Linked DNA regions of Homo sapiens: region 2 is linked to region 1. Evidence: promoter capture Hi-C in 16 types of primary human blood cells and fetal thymus (Javierre and others, 2016). All regions are on one chromosome and are shown on one strand. The core of a region is centred on a gene start or on the middle of the fragment in contact, and the rest is flanking DNA. Distances in the headings are between cores, read along the strand shown. Region 1 holds the start of SPATA31G1 (SPATA31 subfamily G member 1). Region 2 has its middle 16 kb from the start of RUSC2.

What was found. The method cuts DNA at HindIII sites, captures the fragments that hold promoters and counts their contacts. A CHiCAGO score of 5 or more calls a contact.
Region 2: a fragment that was not itself captured here is called in contact with the fragment with the promoter of SPATA31G1 in region 1 in 1 of 17 cell types (M0 macrophages); the score reaches 5.9 in M0 macrophages.

The regions. Positions count from the first base shown.
Region 1 is chr9:35,040,843-35,046,736 of GRCh38, reverse strand. SPATA31G1 (SPATA31 subfamily G member 1) reads right to left here and starts at 4,497. Exons shown (of 2, transcript NM_203299.4): 1 at 4,252-4,497; 2 at 751-3,876. The coding sequence starts at 4,482. The coding sequence ends at 868. The HindIII fragment of the contact is 2,574 bases long and covers 3,414-5,894 here.
Region 2 is chr9:35,470,950-35,476,783 of GRCh38, reverse strand. It overlaps the pseudogene ATP8B5P. Among named protein-coding and RNA genes, the nearest start is that of RUSC2, 16 kb to the left of the region's middle. The HindIII fragment of the contact is 794 bases long and covers 2,904-3,697 here.

The DNA.
Region 1 (5,894 bases), core at 3,248-5,747:
TTTTTTTTTTGTAGAGACAGGGTTTTGTCATGTTGCCCAGGCTGGTCTCAAACTTCTGGGCTCATGCTATCAGCCCATCTCAGCCTCCCAAAGTGTTGGGATTACAGATGTGAGCCACTGCACCCAGGCTCCGTGTCAGACTTCTGACAAAATAAATTTGTTTTGTGGTAATTTGTTACAGCAGCAGTAGAAAACTGTAATACATTGACTAATACAATGTCCAACAAATAGTGCATTAGAAAATGGGTAGAGGATATGACCCGGTGATTATAGAAATCCAGACGGTTACTAGACGTATTAAAAGACACTTGTTTTCATGGCCTTGGAGATGGATGAGCTGACCCAGGGAGAGAAAAGAGCAGAGGGCTGAGAAGAAATGGTCAGAAAGATACGTGGAGAACTTACAGGTCAAGTGGATGAAGAAGAGAACAATACCCAGGACAAAGCACAGTTGCCTAGACTCAGATGACCTGTGCTCGTGTGAATGGATGTAGTTTTTTGTTCACATGCTGTGAAGTCGTTCCCTCTCAAGGGCGGCTTTGGGCTATGCTGACCTGGCCCTGTAGCCTCACCCTATAGAGTAGGGATGTGTGGACTCCAGATGTGATCATCTGTGAAGATCCACAAAAGAGTTAAGCCTGCAGAATCCTGAGTGCTCTACTGGGACTTGAAACTGAGGGGCTATGGCTGTAGCAGAATTGGGAATTGACATTTTCAGTACCCTAGATTCCAAAGAAGACATGAATGGGATTTATCTAATTCAGCTAGTTTATTAGAATTTCCATTTCTTGTCTCCACATCCCCACCTTCCCCCTGGTTTGGCTTCAGGTCTTGGCATACCAAGTGCTAGTATTACCAGCCTTTTCTCTACTGACTAGATTTGGTGGGTAGGGGTCGATGGTTATCCAGGCATTTGGCTAACACCTTTTGCAAACCCCTGGTAAGGGAAGCCTTGAGGGTAGGGAAGGAGAGATACTTCTCCATGTGGGCCCAAGGACAGTGCTTACAGTGGCGAGGGGTCAGGATGTCACTTGCTCTTCGCCCTGCCTCTGGCTGATCCTGGGGACCCGAAGCTTTGGGGAGAAGCAGCTGGGGAAGAGCAGTGTGTTGAGAGCTCTGGCCCCTGTGTTGAGACCTTTGGGGAAATGTGCTTACAGGGGCCTCTACTAGGCTTCTGGCCTGGGCAGGGTGGTTCTTCCCTGTGACTGTGGATAACCCCAACCTTGCAGTCCCTCTTCTATGGTCTCCTGCTTTGGGTTTCCTAGGGTGCTCTCTCTTTTTGGCTGAGGATGAGGCTGAAGCCTTGTCCTTTCTCTTGCCTGAGACCAGAACCTTAGAGTTTGAGGGTTCTCCTGGGCCTGGAGATAGATAGTCCACACCAGCCTCCATGTGTACACATGGCCCTTGGGATGGGACCTGGCTCACCATCTTCCCCTTCATTTTCTCCCCTCTCTGAGACCCTTGTTCCGCCCTGCCAGACTCCTGTGGCTGAAGCTGGGAAGAGGATTGGAAGTGATGACAGTGGGAGGACTGGACAGGCTGAGGTACTGTGCGCTGAACTTCTTGAGGATGACAACTTGAAGAGTGGGGGCATGGATTGGGGGGATAAATCTGCTGTGGTGGGCAGGAAGGGAGTCCCCAGAAGTCTGGAATTGTGGAGCTCAGAATAGGGGAGCTGCAAAATGATTGACTTGGGCCAGGGGCTCTGGAGGCAGGGCTCTGCCGCAGTTTCTTCAGCCTGAGTTTCAGCTCTCTACTCCACTGCCAGGCATGGATCCCAGGATGGGTGAGCAACTCTGGGACAGTCCATCTCTGGGAGAGTGGGGCCTCTGCCTTAACCCCTGGGCACGTTACTCCCTTGGGTAGACCAGGATGAGTGCGTTCAATCTTCACAGCTTCAGCTAGGGTGGGAGGCTGGGGTACTGGGTGTAGGGGATCCACTGCCAGAGGGCTGGGGCCTTGGGGAACTTCTCTTTGTTGCACATTTCTCCACACAAGTTCAAGGTCAATGTGTGGCTCTGGTAGAGGAGTAGAGAGTGAGCTGGGGGCTGGGAGCTCAGTGGCCCAGTGGTTCTTTCTTTGCTCCACTGCCTCCCCGTCAGGCTTATAGTTGCTTTGGTCTGCGATAGGCTCACTTACGTGGGACTTTGAAACAGAGTTTGAGGATGGGCTGGAGCCCCTACCTGGGAACACAGGAACACAGTTTTCTTTTTGCTCCATTTCCCCTACAATAGACTGAGAATCAGACAAGACTCCCAGAGGGCTGGCTCCATGCAGGTCTTGGGGTAAGTTACAAGCTGGGTGCTTAGAGGCCCAGGAGTTTTTTGTCTTTTGTATGTCCCCACATCTAGCTTCAGAATCAGACAGGACCCCCATGGATCTAACTCTGAGCAGCTCCGGTGCAAGAGCTGGGGGTGGGCTGAGGGCCAGAGATGGAGACCTAGAAGCCGAGGAATTCCTGGAATGCTCAGTATCCTTCCATGTAGCTTCTGATGTAGCGAGGCATTCCCCAGGATTGATTCTGTGTGGTTCCATAAGGGTGGTTGGAGGTGTGCTATGAACAGGGTCTGGGGAATCAGATGCCCAGAGGTTCTCTTTCTGCCCCATGGTCTCCCACAAAGCTTTGGATTCAGACAGGACTCCCTGGGGGCCCATTACTAGAGACTCCAGGAGAGGGACTGAGGGAAGGCTGGGAGGTGAAACTGGGTCTGCAGGGACCCAAATATTTTCTCTACTTTGCATGCCCTTCCATGGTGTCTCAGATGCTGGTGGGACACATTCAGGGCTGGTTCCAGAGAGCTCTGGGTTGAGGTCCAAGACTGGAGACTCAAAAGCCCAGAGGTTTCCTGAGTTTTCTCTGCATTCCCACTGGGGCTTATATCTGGATGGATCTTCCAGGGAACTCTCTCTCTGGAGTTCTGGCAGGGAGTCTAGGGGAGGGCAAGGGACTGGCATTGAAGACTCAGAGGCCTGAGGTTTCTCTCTGTATCCCACGGTTCCCCAGAAGTCCTTAGATATAGCAAGTCCTCCTTCAGGGCTAACTTTTCTGGGTTCTGACAGAGAAGCTGGGGATTGGCAGGGGGGTGGCATCGGAGGCTCAAAAGCTTGGGGCATCTTTTTGTGTCCTGTGGTTTCCAAATGAGTCTCATATCCAGGGAGAACTTCCAGGGGGCTAGTTCCAGGGGACTGTGTGGGTGCCTCAGCGCCAGATAAAACTCCCTTGTGGTCCACAGGGAAGGGCCTCAGATGGAGGAGTAGTGATGAGACAGAAGGAGAAGATGGAGGTGGAAGCAGCTGAGGATCGGGGGCCATCCCTTCTAGATCTTCCATAGTATGGGCCCCATGGGTAGAAAACTGGGCTGAGGAGTGATACTGGGGAAGCAACAGGTTGGACCTAGGTAGGAAGGCAAGCTTGTTGAAGAAGACAGAAGAACAAACAGACCACTTCAGAGGAGAGGGGCCACCTGAGCTCAGGAAGATGGCCTCCAAGGACTCGCTGTGCAGAGAGGGGAGACCCCAGAAGAGCTGGCTTTTTCTCTGCTGCTGGCGGTTCCCTGATGCTATCTTGTGCCTCACAGGAAAGCTGGTCAGAATCTGGAAGATGGGGAAGGATCTGGAAGGGCTCACGGGCTGCATGACTGTTTGCTCTGGTATCCCTATAGCCTTGAGGAGGCCCTCAGAACCACAGGATGGCTGGGGTGGGGCTGGAGTGGCTTGCTCTCCAGTGGGAGCTTCTTTGGTAGGAGAACATGGCTTCAGTGGATCCAGAGATGCCTCGTCTTCCCCCTCTTCCTCTTCTTCCCCTTCTTCCTCCACTTCTGATTTCTGCTTACACAGGTGATCAAGGAAGGCCACACGGTGCAGAAGTGGTAGTTCCTGGGAAGTAGATAAAGATATTCTCAGGCATGAAGCCTTTTCAGATACACAAGGTTTGCTATGAGGCACTCAGTCTGCTCCATATCCAGAGTGGACAGTTACTCACCTAATCCCACGTGTGTGGCCAGTCACCTACACAGCTCCTCATCTAGTGTTAATGGTCATTACCCAGTCCTCATTTGGAGATCAGTATTCCCTCATTCTACATCTAGAATCCATGGTCACTCACCTGGCTTCAAATCTAGTGTCAGTGGTTACTCACCCAGCCTCACATCTAGGGCTTATAGTCACTCACCTGGGCCCACATTCATACCAATGACCTCACATGTGGTGTCAGCAGTCATTCATCCAGCTGTACAGTCACAGGTCACCCACCTTGCCTTGCACCATATTCCCAGAGCACCAGGGATGAAGCTGTCGCAACCTCCCAAGCTGCCACCATCTCTGAATCTGCCAAACCACGAATAAGAATAGTGTCACCAGATTTCCTGGACTCTGGAAGCAGCTGCTGCCGCAGTGTCTGCAGGCTAGGGCATGGGTCAGTTGGCCCCAGAGAAGCCCCATATCCCCCTTAGCCCCAAGCAGGTCCTCCAGCAGCCATTCCATTTCCCTTAGCCTTCTGGCAGTTTACCCTGAGGTCATCATTGCATCACAGAACAAAGAACTCCCATCCCCCACAGAGGCCTGGGCTTAACAGCCTTCTCCCTGAATTTAGAACCAAAAAAAATTTCCTCTATCAGGCAATTCATGCTTCACACAGTGAAATGTGGGTGATCCCCTTTTGATTGCCCAGTTCAGAATTATGCTTCAGGCATTGTGGTTAAGTACATGGATTCTAGCACCGAACTGCCTTATTCAAATCATAGCTCTGTCATTTTCCTACCTGTGAAAACTCAAACTACTTAATTTTTTCAGTGCCTCATTTTTCTTATCTATAAAATAAAGATATCATTATCTTTATTTTATAGATATTTATTGTTATTATTTTGAGACAGAATCTCACTGTGTCACCCAGGCTGGAGTGCAGTGGTGTGATCACGACTCACTGCAGCCTCAACCTCCTGGGCTGAAGTGCTCCTCCTGCCTCAGCCTCCTGAGTAGCTGGGACCACAGGCATGTGCCACCGTGCCCAGCTAATTTTTATATTTTTTATTTTTGTAGAGACAGGATCTCTCTATATTGCCCAGGCTGGTCTCGACTCCTGAGCTCTAGGGATCCTCCCGCCTTGGCCTCCCAAAGTGGTGGGATTATAGGCGTGAACCATCTTGCCTGGCATATTATTCTTAGAGGCAAGGTCTCATTGTATTGCCCCGGCTGGTCTTGACCTCCTGAGCTCAAGAGAGCCTTCCATCTCAGCCTCTGAGTAGCTGGGATTACAGGCATGGGCCACTCTACCCAGCACAATAATATTATTACTTACTACACAGGGTTGTTTTGAGGATGTAAAAAGTAAAGTAGAGGTTCCTCTTCAAAGACTTTCCTCTCCATCTTATTAGGAATAAATAGTAACATCTCTTAGAAGCAAAATTTATTCAAAGACCTCTGTTAACATTCTTAAATATCTGCTAGCCGTAATAAATCAATTTACTTTATGTTCTTAGCTTCCACAATTTAGCCTAAATATTTGCCCTGGCATGCTTATATTGGTCCAAGCAAGCATTAGGTCATAGCCTGTTCCTCTTCCTTATTTGAAGGTGTTTTTACCTTTCTCAGCATTCCACAAGTTAACTTCCTCCTTCCTTTGTTCTCTGCCTTTGCCTCTTTTTAAAAAGTTCTAAGTTGTTAGCCAATCAGGACAAATACAGAAAGCGAGGTCCTGTTCCAGCCAATGGAAACCGGACACAGCAGTAGGGTGGATGCGTCAGGCTATAAATGACCCTGCCTCCTTTGTTCGGTGTACTCTTCATGGCAAAACTGCTGGTGAGTGTACCGTTTCTGCAGAAAGTAAAAATAGCCTTGCTGAGGAAATTAAATTTATGTTCAAGTGCTATTTCTTCACGGCACTGGGGAACAAGCAT
Region 2 (5,834 bases), core at 2,051-4,550, 430 kb before region 1:
AGGAGGCGGAGGCTGCAGTGAGCTGAGATCGTGCCGCCGCACTCCAGCCTGGGGGATGCAGCCAGACTCCGCGGGGAAAAAAAAAAAAGACGAGCTGAGGGGAAAGAATCATATAAGGGGATAGTCAGATATTAAGAAAGAGAGAATACAGGATTGACTGAGGTTCCTGAAGAAGTAGGAAGGGATGGAAACTACAATATATAGATTAGTACTGAAGGAAAAAGTTATACTTCTTTTGAGACTGAAGGAAAGGAGGTAAAGGCGGGTTAAAATATATGTACAGAGGAGGATATTTAGCTGATAGTTTGGATTTTTCTCAGTAAAATAGAAGGCAGTATCATTTGCTACGTACTGGGGAGCCAGGAGAGTGTGGTAGAAGGTCTGAGAATGGTGATTGTTTAGAAAAGCTGATACGGAGAATAAAATATGAAGCCAATTACAAAATGGTGAAAAATTTGCCAAGTGGCACTGGGACAGAGGACAGTGGAGTCTCTGAATTTGTAATGGTTTTATGATCTCCAAAATAGTGCTTAACACTCTCAAATTAGAAACAGAGCAGGGTCGATGGTTTGGTTAATTCAAGGTTGAGATTTGTTCAGTGATTAAAGAGAAGAAAAGGAGAACTAGTAAGGTACTGAGGATGCTTATGATCCCAGGGTACAGACAGGCAAGCTAGGAAAGGAAGTAAAGTCATAAGGAATTGATAGACTGGAGAAAAAAGAAAGCCAAGGGTTTATAAATCTCCATGAGATAAAAAAGCAGGAATACTTTTAAAAATCTCAAGTACGAGCCATGTACTGAGAATATGGAGGAATAAGGTTTGTGATCAAAGATTGTGAAAAGAAAGTTTATAATTCCACATTAGTACAACTCTGGACAATTACATGGTAACATGGAAATGGGTGATACAGATTTTTTTTTTTTTTTGTCCAAGAGATCATCTGAAGGATTCTTTCAGAGACCTGAAAGAGTCTACAGTGATAGGTCGTCCATAAGGATGACAATACCACCCAAAACAATAGCAGTGGTTGGGAGGGGAGGGAGAAGTTTCAAAGCCCTCAATGAATGGGGTGTAGAAGCCAGAAGCTTCCTAGATATCAACAACAAGAAGAGTTACAGATGAGTATAGCCAGAAGTCATAAGCATCACAGGAAGAAAGATTGTGTAGGAGAGAAAAACTAATGGTTAAACATGGCACAGGATAATGAGGGCAACACCTTTGGGCTTATGGTATCCAGAGTTTATGGTATGCAGAGTATGAGAGAGATGGAAGAAAAAGGAATGTTCTCAGGGAAAATCATGTTTCAATTAATGAAGGGATTGAGGCTATAGGTAAGTTTGTTTATAAGAGAACAAAAATTCCAGTGATTTAGTGAAAAATGTGTTACGGTCAATCAGTAGTGGACAGAAGGAGAGGAAAGAAACTCCAGGAGGGATTTACTCCCTAGAAGCTATAATTTTGCCTATATTGCCAAGGTCATTAGCCAAGCCCCTGGAAGATGATTTAAGGCAAATCACTGAATTTCCTTCCCCTTCCCAATCTCTTTGGATGGACAGGGGTAAGGCAACAGTTGAGAACTGGAGTCAGATGTTTGGTACATAAGTCAAGTGGCTCAGTTTGGAATTGGGTCTAGCAAGACAGAGATAAGGTGAGGAATACCCTGAAGGCAGCAGAAGAACCCCTGTGAAGGGACACTTAAAAACAAATCCATAAACAAAAGCTGGGTCCAATACTAGAGAAAACAGTAAAAACCAACTAGAGATAAGAAGAATGAATAGGAAGATATTTTTATAATTTTATAAAGCCTGTTGAATATGTCACAAATCCTTAAGTTACAAAGGAAAATGACTGATAGATTTGATTACATGAATTAAACACTTCTACACAAAATATTATTTAACAAATTAAAAACCAAAAGACAAAATGGGAAAAATAATTATAACATATGCACCAGAAAAAGGAAGAGCTAGTATTTTTACTGTATAAAGAGCATTTTCAAATAAGAAAAAAAGGCCAAAGAATATGAATAGACAGTTCACAAAGTAAGTGTAAATGGGCAATAAAGAGATGATAAGGGGAAGAAAAATAAGCACATAAAAATGATTCAACCTAATTAGTCATCAAAAAAGGTAAATTAAATAATTAGATACCATTTTTCATCAATTAAATTTCAACAGATTAAAAATTGTTAATACCAGTTCTGACAAGCATATGGGGGAAAACAAAATGTCATATATTTTTGGTGGGATTATAAAGTTATGCGAATCTACCTGGAGGGCAATGTGGCACTATTTAATGTATTAAAACGTGGCTACCTTTTGACCAATGAATTTTACTTCTAGGACTTTATTCTAAAGAAATAATTATCAGAAAAGTAGACAAAATGTATGTTCCATAATGATTACCAAAATGTCATTTGTAATCGCAAAGGAAAATGGAATAAAAATAAGAAATTAAATAAATTAAGGTACAGTGATACAACTGAATAGTGGACACCCATTCAAAATGATGATGTAGACCTAGACCTACCGACATGGAAAGATGACGACAATAATAGTGTCAAGTGAACAAAAGGAAACTGGAAATAGCATGCATACTATGATTTTATCTCCCCCATCTTCTAGATCTAGATGTACATATGTGTGTGTGTATACACATATGAAAAGCATAGGATATACTCCCCAACTTTACACTGGCTATCTAAATGGGATGGAATAATTTTAACTTTCTTCACACATTTCTGTATTATTTAATTTTTTTTTTTACAGTGAGCATGGATTATTTTTTAAAGAGAAAAAGCCAATAAAGCTATTTTTGTTTAAAAAGAACAAACGAAGATCTTCAGAATTAAACATAGGTCATTTATATAATGCTTTCTGATATTACAGGACCAGTAAAAGCTTTAATATTTCAGTGGCTAAGGGAGTCTCGATTTGTATTAAGGATGCTTCTCTGAAGCACAGCCTCACTCAGCTCCCACATGCATTTCCCATGGAGCTGTAATCACTCACCTCAGAGACCGTCACCCTCTGTCCATCCTTGTCATAAGTATCACCTGTTGGTAAGTGAACACAGCAGAGACTTGGCAAGGGTTTTAAAGGAGGGTTTGAATTTCTTTAAATTGTTGTTAAAAAAATATACATATATATCACATAAAACTTGCCATTTTAACTATTTTAAATGTAAAATGCAATGACATTAATTATATTCACAATGTTGTGCAACAATCACCACTATATATTTCCAACATTTTTTCAGCACCCCAAACAGAAACTTCCCATTTTTTCCCATCACCAGCCCCTAGTAACCTCTAGTCTATTTTTTGTCTCTATGAATTTGCCTATTCTAGATAGTTCACATAAGTAGAATCATAAAATTTTTGTCTTTTTGTGTTTAGCTTACATCACTTAGCATAATGCTTTCAAGGTTCATCCATGTTGTAGCATGTATCAAATTTCATTACTTTTTATGGATGATTCACATTCCATTGTATGTATATGCTATACCACAGTTTCTTTATCCATTCATCTGTGGATGGACATGTGGGTTATTTCTATCTCTGGACTTATGCGAATAATGTCACAATGAACGTTGGTATACATGTATCCGAGTTCTTGTTTTCAAGTTTTGGGGGTATATACCTAGGAATCAAATTGCTGGGTCATATGGTGATTTAAAGGAGGGGCCTTAAAAGCTTATTTATTCTGATTCCTTCATCCTAGACTTGCAGTCAAGATGCCTGCCCCCCAGTCTCCTCAGGCCACCTAGCTCCCAGTTCCCAGTAAGCTCCTTTCCCTAAGCCAATGGTAAGAAGAGGTTTGCTTGGGCCTCAACTCTTCTCCCCTAAGTGAGAATAAGATGAAGCTAGAAGTTAGTCACTGGATCTGTGATAGACTTCACACCTCAGGAAGCCCTCCAATCATAAGAGTTACCCAGAAGAGATGTGGACACAGTTTTAGAATGTTTGGGATTCTTGACCAGTGGATGACAGACTGAATAGGGGTAGAAGACATGTCTGATGCCAAGCATGGAAACACTCATGGTCCTTTTCAACTTTACCCAGTATATGGTCAGGTCAGAGAATTAAGAGGCTCACCCAAATCAGCTCATCCAAAAATAAGCCTTCAGAGTTTATATAAGTGAAAATTTGTTTGACATGGTTACCAAACAAATAATAGGAAATATAGGAAATAATAGGAAATATTAGAGTGCTCTAGTCTTTTTTTTTTTTTTTTTTAGACAGGAGTTTCACTCTTGTCACCCAGGCTGGAGTGCAGTGGCATGATCTTGGCTCACTGCAACTTCCACCTCCCGGGTTTAAGAAATTCTCCCACCTCAGCCTCCCAAGTAGCTGGGATTACAGGCATGTGCCACCATGCCTGGCTAATATTTTTGTATTTTTTGTTGAGATGGGGTTTCACCATGTTGGCCAGGCTCGTCTCGAGCTTCTGACCTCAGGTGATCCGCCTGCCTCAGACTCCCAAAGTATTGAAATTACAGGCGTGAGCCAACGCACCCGGCCTAGCTTTTTTTAATTAAAAAATTTCAATTACTTATTGATATGAAATTTACTTAGTTAACATATAATTATCCATTTTAATGTGTACAATTTAGAGGCATTTAGTGCATTTACAATGTGCAACTACCACCTCTCTCAAGTTTCTAAACTTTTTCGTCACCCCAGAAAGATTATTCCATGTGTTCTAGTTTTTTAGATGTGATTACCTTCCTCTGTTAGCTAGGACACTGGGTATGACTGTTCACACACATGAGGACTTAACTCTATCACAAAAACAAGCTTATGCTTAAGGCATAAGATAAATAAGGGATTGGGCCTGGGAGACACTGATCAAACTCTGACTACCCTTTGATGGTTTCTCTCAATAATATTTATTGCTGTAAAGGGGAATCAAGAAATTAGCAGCTTCAGTAATACATTGACTGCTCCATTTAATTTATTTTTAATTTTATTATTAATTGACAAATACTAATTGTATATATTTATGGATACAATGTGATGTTTTCATATATGTATACACCATGGAATGATTATATCAAGCTAACTAACATATTTATCACCTTGCATACTTATTTTTTTGTAGTGAGAACATTTAAAACTCTTTTAGTAATTTTGAAATATGCAATACATTATTATTAACTAGGATCAACATGCTGTGCAATGGATCTTGAAGACTTATTCCTCCTGCCTAACTGAAACTTTGTACCCTTTGACCAACATCCATCTGATTTAAAGTGGGAGTGAACTGAGTACATAGACATTGGGGACTCCTTGAGGACAGAGACTAAGTCTTGCACATCTCGGTATTCTCAATGCCCAACACAATAGATTGTACCTATAAGATGCTAAATAAATGCTTTTTGGTTAGAACTGTTTGGGCTGGGTGGTCTTTGCTTAGAGAATAGAGACAGTTGTGAGAATAGGAGATAAATGTGAATTCCAGAGGCTTACAGATTTAGAGCTAGATTAGTCTTGAAAACAATTTGCAAAGTAAAAATTTCCCAGGACTTGGGGAAAGCAGGAAGACATGCATATCATAGAGCTTCCCATTAATAGAACATTTGTTGAAAATCATAATGTTCTGAGTCAGAGTCCCTGTTTTGTCAGAGAACACATATTTGACTTGGCCGAGCTCCTCAGTAAGGGTGGTAGTACGAGCCTGTGCTGGTGTGTTCCTTGGTGCATAAAACATCTTCCGATCCCAGTTGATATATAAACTGTTGCCCAATCTTATTATTTCAACACTAAGGAGAAAGCAGAAAAAGAATGGTTCTGCGTCAGAACAGGACAAGCAAATATATCATCCTGGTTTCT